Linked DNA regions of Homo sapiens: regions 1, 2 and 4 are each linked to region 3. The links are contacts of gene promoters, found by promoter capture Hi-C in blood cells and fetal thymus (Javierre and others, 2016). All regions are on one chromosome and are shown on one strand. Each heading gives the region's core, a stretch centred on a gene start or on the middle of the fragment in contact. The rest is flanking DNA. Distances are from core to core; before and after follow the strand shown. Region 1 overlaps CDS1 (CDP-diacylglycerol synthase 1). Region 2 has its middle 85 kb from the start of CDS1. Region 3 holds the start of WDFY3-AS2 (WDFY3 antisense RNA 2). Region 4 overlaps LOC102723338 (a long non-coding RNA gene).

Region 1 (2,800 bases), core at 291-2,790, 340 kb after region 3:
GTTCAATAACAGAAGATACCATAGACTCTTTGACTGTTGGTATTATCATCAAAACTCAAAATGCCAGAAGTCTTGTTACCTTAAATATAAACTGAGAAGGTACTACATTCTTCTCTCCCATAATAAAAAAAGAATCCATTCCAGAATCTACCTTACCTTTAACAAAATAAATCAAGCTTACTGGTTTGGTAAATGAGAGAAAATACTCAAAGTTTCTACAAAGAATACCAAGAAAATGCACAAATGTGCTTTGATAAACACAGAATCAGAGTCAAGTGTTTTACTCTCCAAAATTTTAGTATGGTCTTCTTAGCTGATAACAATCATAATCTCTCCATGATCATAATCCTTCCAACTGGTCAGAATTTAAAATGGACCAACTACCATCATATGAGTACCAGTAAAAGAGTAGAAATTTTTCAATACCTATTTCTAGGAATGTACTTTCTATAGATATAGCAGTGAAAAGTTTTTTTAAATGAAGGAACAAATTTGGAAAGCTGAACTGAACAATAAACCTGAATGAAAGGCTGGGTGCAGTGGCTTGTGCCTGTAATCCCAGCACTTTGGGAGGCCAAGGCGGAAGGATCCCTTGAGCCCAGGAGTTCGAGACCAGCCTGGGCCACATGGGGAGACCTAATCTCTGGGAAAATAAAATGAAATTTAAAATTTTAAAAAGTAACAAAAAACCTGAATGTAAAAGGTGGAAAATTATTCGAAAATGTATTCCTCCTCATTACATAAAAACAAGTTCTCTGAAAATTCCCATTACCATTTCAGATTGTATTTCACTTTCTGGCTTTTTAGAATTAGAAGGCCTAGGAACTGAAGGAGCTGAGGGGCACCAAGAAGAACATCATAACTATTTAATGAAATAGCATACTTCTACAGGACTGGACATGCTTCCCCACATACTCTGTATATTTTTAAAGAGAAATGGAAAAGAATTACCCAGTTTCTAAGATTGTACCAGGAGAAAAATTCATTTATTGGGAAACTCCTAGGAGCTAAAACAATAACTAGTAACAGCTAAGGTGAAAACTCACAAACAAACTTCATGTCCTTCTTTTAAAGTGAAAATAACAATAAAAAAAATTTAAGTAGTGCCAGGTACTATTCTAAGTGCTTTACAAAGAAACTGAAGCACAGAGAAATTAATTAAATATCTCATTTTTGTTTGTTTGTTTGCTTTTTGAGATGGAGGTTCCCTCTTGTTGCCCAGGCTGGAGTGCAATGGTGTGATCTCGGCTCACCGCAACCTCCGCCTCCCGGGTTCAAGCGATTCTCCCGCCTCAACCTCCTAAGTAGCTGGGATTACAAGCATGCACCACCATGCCCGGCTAATTCTGTATTTTTAGTAGAGACGGGGTTTCTCCATGTTGGTCAGGCTGGTCTCGAACTCCCAAACTCAGGTGATCCGTGCACCTTGGCCTCCCAAAGTGCTGGGATTACAGGCATGAGCCACCACGCCCAGCCCAAATATCTCACTGTTTACTCAACCAGTAATTGGTAGGTCCAGAATTCAAATGAGCAATCTGGCTTTTAAAAAGCACATTTAAAAAAATCAATTGCTTAGGGGTTTTTATGATCTGTAAAATTTCATAGAAAAGATATCTGTAAATTCTAACTTTATCTTAAGAATCTAATTTTTAATTTAAAAATTACAAAAACATGTGGCATAGCATACTATAAACAGTTGCATATATTATAAACTATGTCTAAAAAACTAATTAGGCCAGGCGCGGTGGCTCATGCCTGTAATCCCAGCACTTTGGGAGGCTGAGGCAGGCGAATCACGAGGTCAGGAGATTGAGACCATCCTGGCTAACACGGTGAAACCCCGTCTCTACTAAAAATACAAAAAATTAGTCGGGTGTGGTGGCGGGGGCCTGTAGTCCCAGCTACTCGGGAGGCTGAGGCAGGAGTATGGCGTGGACCTGGGAGGTGGAACTTGCAGTGAGCTGAGATCACACCACTGCACTCCACCCTGGGCGACAGAGTGAGACTCCATCTCAAAAAAAAAAAAAAAAAAAAACAACTAATTACCCTGATTAGTTCTACATGAAAAAGCTCTATTTCCTAGGGACAAATAAAGCAATATATATGTGAAAGTTTTTTCATAAATTAAATTTGGTTAATAATTTTTATTTACTTAAAAGTTTTTTTACTACAATTTGCAAAGAAAATTTTCAAACATATGGAGTGATTCTTTCTTTTTTTTTTTTTTTTTTAGATAAGAGTTTTGCCCAGGCTGGAGTGCAATGGCGTGATCTCAGCTCACGGCAACCTCTGCCTCCCAGGTTCAAGCGATTCTCCTGCCTCAGCCTCCTGAGTAGCTGAAATTATAGGCATGTGCCACTATGCCCGTCTAATTCTGTATTTTTAGTAGAGACGGACTTTCTTCATGTTGGTCAGGCTGGTCTCAAACTCCCGACTTCAGATGTTCCACCTGCCTCAGCCTTCCAAAGTGCTGGGATTACAGGAGTGAGCCACCGCACCCGGCCTGGAGTGATTCTTAACAAGCACTTTTTAAACCCACTATAAGGGAGTAATTGCTATTTAAGAACATGATGAAAGAAATAGCTTTATACACAAGAAACAATGAAAAAGAGAGGCTGGAATAAAATTTAACCAAAAAATTACTAATTAAAATAACAGAAATAAAAATAAACATGGAAAATATGTTAACTATATATCAATACAGAATATTCCTTAACTTACCTGCCAGATAGAGGGCAAATGATATAAATCTATGGTAGCGAATGAGGAACTGAAGTTGTTCTTCTCTTTGAACAAATGT
Region 2 (2,715 bases), core at 182-2,681, 300 kb after region 3:
TTATGAGCTTGTTTGGGTTTAAAATAGCCTTTCTGTAAAGAAGAGTTTTTAAGTTTATTTAGGCTGTTTTGATGATTTCACTTTCCCTCTTTCTAAAGATATTAAATTCATTTTAAGCTTGAACAGCAGAGCCCCAAATTTGAGTATGTTTTGCTTATTACAAATTTTACCTTACTGCAACTCTACTTGAGTGGCAGAAGATGAAGGAATGCCAAGAACTAAAACAACAGCAATTTCTTTAAAAAATTAAAAAAAAAAATGGTAAAAGAAACCTTAGAGCAGCTCCCATGTTATTAATGCTTTATTACTTATAGTTCTGGTGACGGGTTGCAGTCAAGGATGGACACTGCAGAATTCTCAGATGCAGAAATTCAGAGTTTAAAAGAACAAACATGCAAATGATTTTCAGTGAGTCCCTTGTCTGCCATTTGCTTCTCATCTTCAACAGAATTTTCCCTCCACGCCTCACTTTTGACCATTTGATGGACTTGGCCCAGCACTTGGTTAGTCTCTTTGCTTTATGAATATTCTCATTTCCTCCCACCTATTATAAAGCTCTTTTTTTTTCTTTTACTTTTGCTAGAGACAGCACCAAGCCAAGCTACCACAATAGCATGGTGTTTTGGAGATCCCTGATTTGGAATTACCACTGAGGCTTCAGTTCTAACCAGCTTGGGAATTTAGGAAGCCTCTTGTTTTAGCGCTCACTCTCTCCATAGGGTTTTCCTACATCAGTAGTTGCCTGTGAGGATGGGAATGGTCTAAGTGCTTCTTTAAACTTTTTGGTCTGAGAACTCTTTGATCCTTAAAAATTTTCAAGGAACCGAACAGCTTTTGCTTATTTGGTTTATATCTATCAGTAGTCATTGTATTAGAAATTAAAACTGAGATTTAAAATATATATGTCAACTCATTTAAAATAACAATGATAAGACCATGATGTATTAACATAATTACATATTTCTATAAAAAGTCTTTTACAGCCGAGTGCAGTGGCTCACACCTGTAATCCCAGCACTTTGGGAGGCAGAGGCGGGCGAATCACCTGAGGTCAGGAGTTCAAGACGAGTCTGGCCAACGTGGCGAAACCCCGTCTCTACTAAAAAATTAGCCAGGCATGGTGGCATGCGCCTGTAATCCCAGCTACCTGGGAGGCCGAGGCAGGAGAATGACTTGAACCTGGGAGGTGGAGCTTGCAGTGAGCCGAGATCACACCGCTGCACTCCAGCCTGGGCGACAGAGTGAGACTCCGTCTCCAAAAAAAAAAAAAAATCTTTTCCAAACAAAAAAAACAGGTTTTTTTGGCAAATTTACAACTTTTTGCAAATCTCTGTAATGTCTGGCTCAATAGAAGACAGGTGGATTCTCAAGTTTGCTTCTACATTCCATCTGTTGTGATACTTTGTTTTGACTGGATTTATGGAAAAAGACAAATCTGCATGGTTTTGGCTCGTTTCCTGAACTTTGTTCTCCAGCTATCATTTTGTGAAAAGTATGTCTATCGCACCCCTACTATAGTCACATCAGGAATATACTTTGTTTTGGTTGAAGCATGAAGAAAATCCAACCTCACACATGTATTGGTTGAAAAGGGGGTGAATATTTTTAATTTTTATGAGCTCATAAGTGTATATATTTATGAGGTACATGTTATATTTCAATACAGGCATACAATGTATAATAGTCACATCAAAGTAAATAGAGTGTTTACCACCTCAAGCATTTATTGTCCCTTTCTGTTAGGAACACTCCAATTCCACCCTTTTGGATATTTTAAAATATGCAGTAAATTGTTGACTGGAGTCACCCTGTTGTGCTATCAAATACTAGATCTTATTCATTCTATGTGACTATATTTTTATACCCACTAAACATCTCCACTCTCCACCCTCCTCCCTGCTACTCTTTGTAGCCTCTCGTAACCATCATTCTACTCTGTCTCCATGAGTTCGCTTGTTTTAATCTTTAGCTCCCACAAATGAGTGAGCACATGCAAAATGTCTTTTTTTTTAATTTGCCTGGCTTATTTCACTTAACATAATGTCCTCTAATTCCATCGATATTGTTGCAAATGATAGTATCTCATTTTTATGGCTGAATAGTATTCCATTGTGTATAAGTGCCACATTTTCTATATCCATTCATCTGTTGATAGACTCAGGTTGAGTTGAAATCTTGGCTATTGCAAATAGTACTGCAGTAAACATGGGAGGACAGATATCTCTTTGATATACTGACTTCCTCTCTTTTGTGTATATTCCTAGTAGTGGGATTGCTGGGTCATATGGCAGTTCTATTTTTAGTTTTTTTAGGAACCTCCATACTGTTCTCCATAGTGGTTGTACTAATTTACATTCCCACCAACGGTGTAGGAGGGTTCCCCTTTCTCTGTCCTCACCAGCATTTGTTCTTGCCTGTCTCTTGGATAACAGCCATTCTAACTGGGGTGAGAGGATATCTCCTTTTGGTTTTGGTTTGCATTTCTCTGATGATAAATGATGTTGAGCATTTTTTCATATACCTGTTTGATATTTGTATGTCTTCTTTTGAGAAATGCCTATTCACATCATTTGCCCATTTTTTAATAGGATTATTAGATTTTTTTTCCTATTGAGTTGTTTGAGCTTCTTATATATTCTGATTATTAACCACCCTTGTCAGATGAGTGGTTTGCAAATATTTTCTTCTATTCTGTGGGTCGCCTCTTCACTTGTT
Region 3 (2,762 bases), core at 205-2,704:
AGCGGAACCCAGTTGTCCTTTCTCAGCTGAGTCCTTTCAGAAACTGGGACTGAGGAGGGTGAGCGCCGCGGAGAGGGGCAGGGGTGGGAGAGGAGAGAGGGGCGCGGGGCGGGGAAGAGGCGCGTCTGGAAGGCAGTGGGGAGAGGGACTGAGAGGAGTGGGGTTGAAGTCCAGCTGGGAGCATCCAGCGGCGCTGTCTGCAGACAGGGGCGAAGGCAGCCGCTGAGAGTGAGGCAAGAGCGGGAAGCCGAGGGAAGGGAAGGAAGTAAGGAAAGAGGAAGGAAAGGCAGGAGGGGGTAGAAGCTGAGCGGCTGCAATTTCTGCGGCCGGCTCAGTAGGAGGAGCAGGAGGGGAAAGAGGAGGATCCAGTCAGTCAGTCAGACAGCCAGCGGGAGGTGGAGAAAGCAGGAGGAGGAGGAGGATTAAAGATGGCCACCAACAGCTGCGGGAAACGGCAACAACCCCTCACTTTCCGGGATGGTCCCTGCGGGTCGGCCCGGCCTTGATGGAGAGAAGAAACCCGAGGAGCGCCGAGGCTGAGGCGGCGGCGGCGGGGACCCAGCGAGGACGAGGACGCGGCGGAGCAGGGACGGGGGCAGGAGAAGGGAAAGGCGGCGGCGTCGCTGCCCCTGCTGCCTAGCACCGCTGCCTGGCCCGGCGGACCGGTTCCCATACCTCGCGGCCGCAGAATCGAGCTCGGGCCCCGGCCCCCGGCCCGCGGCGCGGGGCTCCCGGGCCCCGCCGCGGACGTCGCGCCGGTCGCCCCTTCCCCGTAGCCCGTGCGCCCTCGGCGCGGAGCCCCGGCCCGCCGCGGTCCCGTCTCCTGGGCCTGTCCCGCCCGCGCCCTCCGCCGGCCCTCAGGTGAGTACCCCCGCCATCCTCCCCGCCCCCCGCGCTCCCGGAGAGGCGGTGCTGCCTCGGCCCGGCGCGCCTGGCCGCTTTGTTCGTGCGGGGCGGAGGCGCTGCCCACTCGCGGCCCTGCGCCCGCTCCCCCTAGGGACAGGCCGCGGCCCAGCTGCTGTCCTCCCCAGGGTCCGCCTTGGCCGGGAGCCGCCGCCGCCGCCAGGGTGGGCGGCCTGGCCCTAGTCCTCCGCTGCCTCCTGGGGAGGGCGCCGTCGCGGACGGGTCGGGGTCGGGGTCACGGGCGGCGAGCGGAGCGGAGCGGAACCGGGATATTTCGGGGGATAGGGGAGGAGAGGGCTGGACGTTACCTGTGGGAAGCAGTGGGGGCGTAGGCGGCCCTGGCTCGCAGGGGTAGGGGATCAGGCCCTGGCCCCCCCCCGCTGCATCCTGCGGGGTCTCAGCTCCCGGAGCCACCCGGACCTGAGCGCAGCCGAGCGCGGCCTCCATCCCTCGGGCGCTGTCTCCAGGGCTTCGGGCCTCTCCCCCTACGCCCTACGCTGGAAGCCCTTCGATTATGGAAGGAGCCAGAGATGCTCCAGTTCTCTTGTACTGGGGATGTGGTGGCATCGCAAACATTCACAGTTACGGCGGGATTTAAGAAGCAGATGAGACCTTTCCAACCAAAGGCCATCTGGCTAGTGTTTGAGCCTCAGGTGCAGTTTTTCATTGATTTTTACCATTTAATTGTGAGATCTGCAATATCAGGTCTTCCTTTCACAGAAACAATGTGATACAACCAGATTGAAAGGATATTTACTGCATATGTGAACCCTTGCATGGACTTCCAGTACCTTAAAAATGGTTAAGTGTTTTCTGTTGGAAAATGGTGCTCATGCATACGAAAAACTATTTTTGTTCAGTAATGGTTGCCAACTGGTTTACTATGTAGTTTGAACACCAAACAATTAAAAAGGAAAAACAAAACCCTATTCTTCGGGCTTTTTAAATAGTGGCATATTTCCAGGTTGGTATTTGGTAGCAGGTTGAGAACAACTGGTTTCGACTATCAGGCGACGTAACAAACATAACATAAAACAGAACTAAAAATGTGCTAATTTATAGAAAAACATGTTGTATTAGTGCATAAGTCTAGTAAAAAAATCCGACTTTAAAAAAAATAAAACTTTATCATGAGACTCTTAAGTATAGGAATTAGGTTGGTATGTTTTTATGTTTAAAAATATATATTGCATTAGAATTGAGAACTCTTCCTATGATATTTGAGCAATAGTAAAGTATGTTAATACTTTGAACCATTCTATCTCAAGCTGCTAGAAAGAGGTTTCTACTGCTAGTTTCTTTCCATGAGTTAAAATGGATTCATCTGAAATATATGTATGCTTTTGGTGGGTCACAGTGGGTCATGCCTGTCATTCCAGCACTTTGGGAGGCCAAGGCTGGGGGATCACTTGAGGCCAGGAGTTAGAGACCAGCCTGGGCAACAAAGAGAAAACAATTTTTGTAAAGAAAAAAAAAAATGTTTCAAAAAATTTGTATCACCTCCAAAAAGGAGGGATAAGTTAGAAAATACAATGTTCTACTCTTGCATAATCTGTTTTTGAAAAAGTAAATGACAGTATATTTCAATATTAGTTGGATTCTCTGCTTTGAAGAGATTCTTAAATTCCACTGCTCAACTTTGCAATTTTAAAAGTTTACATCAGTTGTTCTTAATTTATTTATTTATTTCTTTTTTTAGAGACAGGGTCTTGCCCTGTTGCCCAGGCTGGGGTGTAGTGGCACGATCACGGTTCACTGCAGCCTTGAACTTCTGGGCCCGAGTGATCCTTCTCCCACAGCCTCCCAAGAAGTTAGGACTACATGTGCATGCCACCATGCCTGTCTAATTTTTCTATTTT
Region 4 (2,700 bases), core at 103-2,602, 420 kb after region 3:
CCATGTATCTGGGTACTGTGGCTCAGCCAAGTGGACAGGTAAAATTAACCATCACTCTACTCTTTCTTTTTCTTTCGCCAAAAGCCTCCTAGCATCTTCTACCAGTTTGCATATTATAAAGAGAATTAGGTTGATTCTTGGAAACTTGAAACTCATCTTAGTGATGTGTATTAGTTCTTATGCTCTCATTATTAGACTCTCACATTAGCATGGCCTAATTTCTACTACCAGGAATAAGATGTGTGCTGTGCTAATGGGAAATGATATATTTAGTGTTTTGTATGATCATTCTTTAGGGTCTGTGTCCCTTTAATTGGATGAGAGCCCACGCGGAGTGGGTAGATAATAGTGTCCTTTCTGCTTACCCCTGCATTAGGAATAAAAGAGAAAGAAAATATGTGTGTGCTCAGGAAAAAAATCCATTATTTTTGATATTCAAGATATTATAATCAATATAATAACTTTCAAGTACCTTCCAGTTAGTAAGCTTTTCAGAGTATAAATTAATTCCATATCAGCTGAAACCAGTGGCTTTTCCCATGTTGGGTTCAATTGTAGTTATGGATGACATAAGCTTTTCCATCAAGTGTAATAACTAAGTTCTAATTTTGTTGGCCAGTGTAACTTTAACACAATAACAAAACATAATTAAAAATAAGGGCTATTTTTTTCAGACCTTATATAAATATATTGTGCTTAGCAGATAGATAACATTTTTGAATTAGAGGAGTTTTAATTAATTCAATGCTTAAGTACCACAAGCAATTTAATTTTCACAATATGTTAAGTATCCATATTCAGTTTACAAAATACCACAATTGTGTGAAATTGATCTTTTGATTCATTTGATTCATCATGACATTTCTCTTTGTTACATGAAAAAATATAACATTTTGAAGTCAATCTATGTTTCCTTCCAAGATTAAGAAAATGGCAAATGATGTAGACCCTTTAAACATATGGACCAAGTCTCCCATTTCTCCAAACAAGAGACTTATGATATTTTGGTTTGTCTGAGGAAGAAAGCTGGCTGTTGCTACCAGGGTGAACTAGGGAATAGCCTGGTCTACTCCAGTTGAGGAACAGCTATAAGGTCTCTTTGGTGCTCTGTTGGTTCTTTTAGCAATAAGAAGGGCAAGTGATCATGAAAGGACTATACTTCATTCTATTTTCTGTAGCTCTTTGAGTGGTTTATGAACATAGCCCATAATAGCATAAGCTGTTATGGAACAGCTTACACTTGTGACAAAGAGAATTCAAAGCCATATAGTTTACAAAAAAATAAATACAAATAGACCTAAACATATAAAGAGAATATGCAAATTAAGGGCATGCAAATTAAAATTATACTAACATACAATATTTCACCCTGATAGGCAGAAAGCCAAAGGTGCAATAGTTCATTCTGTGGGGGAGACTTTGGAGAAACAGTCACTATTGCTTGTTGCTGTTAGGATTGCAAAATGGTATAACATGTGTGGCAGGGACACTGACAATATCTAGAAAACAGTGAAATGCATTTATCTTTGGTGCAAGTTATTTTATTGTCTCTTCTCATACCTCTTATCCATTTTTTTGCCCTTCCCCACACTGCTCTGGACCATGAGATACTACTAACCCTTTTGGAAGGCCTCACTCATGTTTCCTTGCAACTGCCTTAAACCACTACAATAAATGAGTAGTTTAACAGACTGTTCAATTGGTGGTGCCATGGATTAAGTCCACTAGCCATTGTGGGATTCTAGCCTCTTGTCTTTCATTAAACCTCTAAAGTTCTCACATGCTGAGGCGAAAAAGTTTCCTAGAGTTCTGAAATACAGGTCTTAAATTCCTGGTCTCTGTCACAGACCAATTGCATCAGAATCTCACGTGGGAGGGATAGCAATCTGTTGTTTTCAGACTCACTGGGTTGGGTAACTACTGATCAAGATACAGCACAGTTTCTCACATTGCTCCATTTGTTCTAGATCACTGAGATGTTAATGTGTAGTCCTCTAAAATAATGACAGCTGGAATAAGGAATAACAGCAACACAAAACTAATGCTCTAACAATAGCGAAACTTTGTGGTGTTTACTATGAGGCAGGTACTGCTGCAAATACTTCACTCATGCTAACCCATTGAAGCTTCACAACTACCCAATAAAGTAGGTGCTTTCACTATTGCAACTTTTCAGATGCAGAAACTAAGGCACAGGACGATTAAGTGACTTGTCCAAGATGCCACAGTTACTAGAGGCAGAATTTAAACAAAGGAGGCCATATGGCTCTGGAGTTTGTGTACTAAAACTCCTGTGGTCTAACATTTTTGGGAAATTCTGCTCTTTTTTTCGGATTTATAATGTAATAATATATTGGTGCAAGCTTTGAGAGGTATCTATAAATAATCCCTCTTGTAAGTAATTTTATTTCTCCTTCGCTTATGAAGCTTAGTTTGGCTGGATGTGAAATTATGGGTTGAAAATTATTTCTTTAAGAATGTTGAATATTGGCCCCCACTCTCTTCTGGCTTGTAGGGTTTCTGCAGAGAGATCCGCTGTTAGTCTGATGGGCTTCCCTTTGTGGGTAACCCGACCTTTCTCTCTGGCTGCCCTTAACATTTTTTCCTTTATTTCAACCTTGGTGAATCTGACAATTATGTGGCTTGGGGTTGCTCTTCTCGAGGAGTATCTTTGTGGTGTTCTCTGTATTTCCTGAATTT

The links. The method cuts DNA at HindIII sites, captures the fragments that hold promoters and counts their contacts. A CHiCAGO score of 5 or more calls a contact.
Region 1: a fragment that was not itself captured here is called in contact with the fragment with the promoter of WDFY3-AS2 in region 3 in 1 of 17 cell types (erythroblasts); the score reaches 5.6 in erythroblasts.
Region 2: a contact is called between a fragment that was not itself captured here and the fragment with the promoter of WDFY3-AS2 in region 3, in 2 of 17 cell types (neutrophils and endothelial precursors). The highest score is 6.3, in neutrophils.
Region 4: a contact is called between a fragment that was not itself captured here and the fragment with the promoter of WDFY3-AS2 in region 3, in 1 of 17 cell types (erythroblasts). The highest score is 5.4, in erythroblasts.

Annotation. Positions count from the first base shown.
Region 1 is chr4:84,619,455-84,622,254 of GRCh38, reverse strand. It overlaps CDS1 (CDP-diacylglycerol synthase 1), which reads right to left. Exons shown (of 13, transcript NM_001263.4): 5 at 2,722-2,800. Among named protein-coding and RNA genes, the nearest start is that of CDS1, 38 kb to the right of the region's middle. The HindIII fragment of the contact is 2,723 bases long and covers 179-2,800 here.
Region 2 is chr4:84,666,276-84,668,990 of GRCh38, reverse strand. No RefSeq gene overlaps it. Among named protein-coding and RNA genes, the nearest start is that of CDS1, 85 kb to the right of the region's middle. The HindIII fragment of the contact is 2,623 bases long and covers 120-2,715 here.
Region 3 is chr4:84,964,308-84,967,069 of GRCh38, reverse strand. WDFY3-AS2 (WDFY3 antisense RNA 2) reads right to left here and starts at 1,454. Exons shown (of 4, transcript NR_152775.1): 1 at 1,212-1,454. It overlaps WDFY3 (WD repeat and FYVE domain containing 3), which reads left to right and starts at 380. Exons shown (of 68, transcript NM_014991.6): 1 at 380-861. The HindIII fragment of the contact is 8,814 bases long and covers 1-2,762 here.
Region 4 is chr4:84,546,580-84,549,279 of GRCh38, reverse strand. The region is part of intron 3 of LOC102723338 (a long non-coding RNA gene); the gene reads left to right. Among named protein-coding and RNA genes, the nearest start is that of CDS1, 35 kb to the left of the region's middle. The HindIII fragment of the contact is 1,552 bases long and covers 577-2,128 here.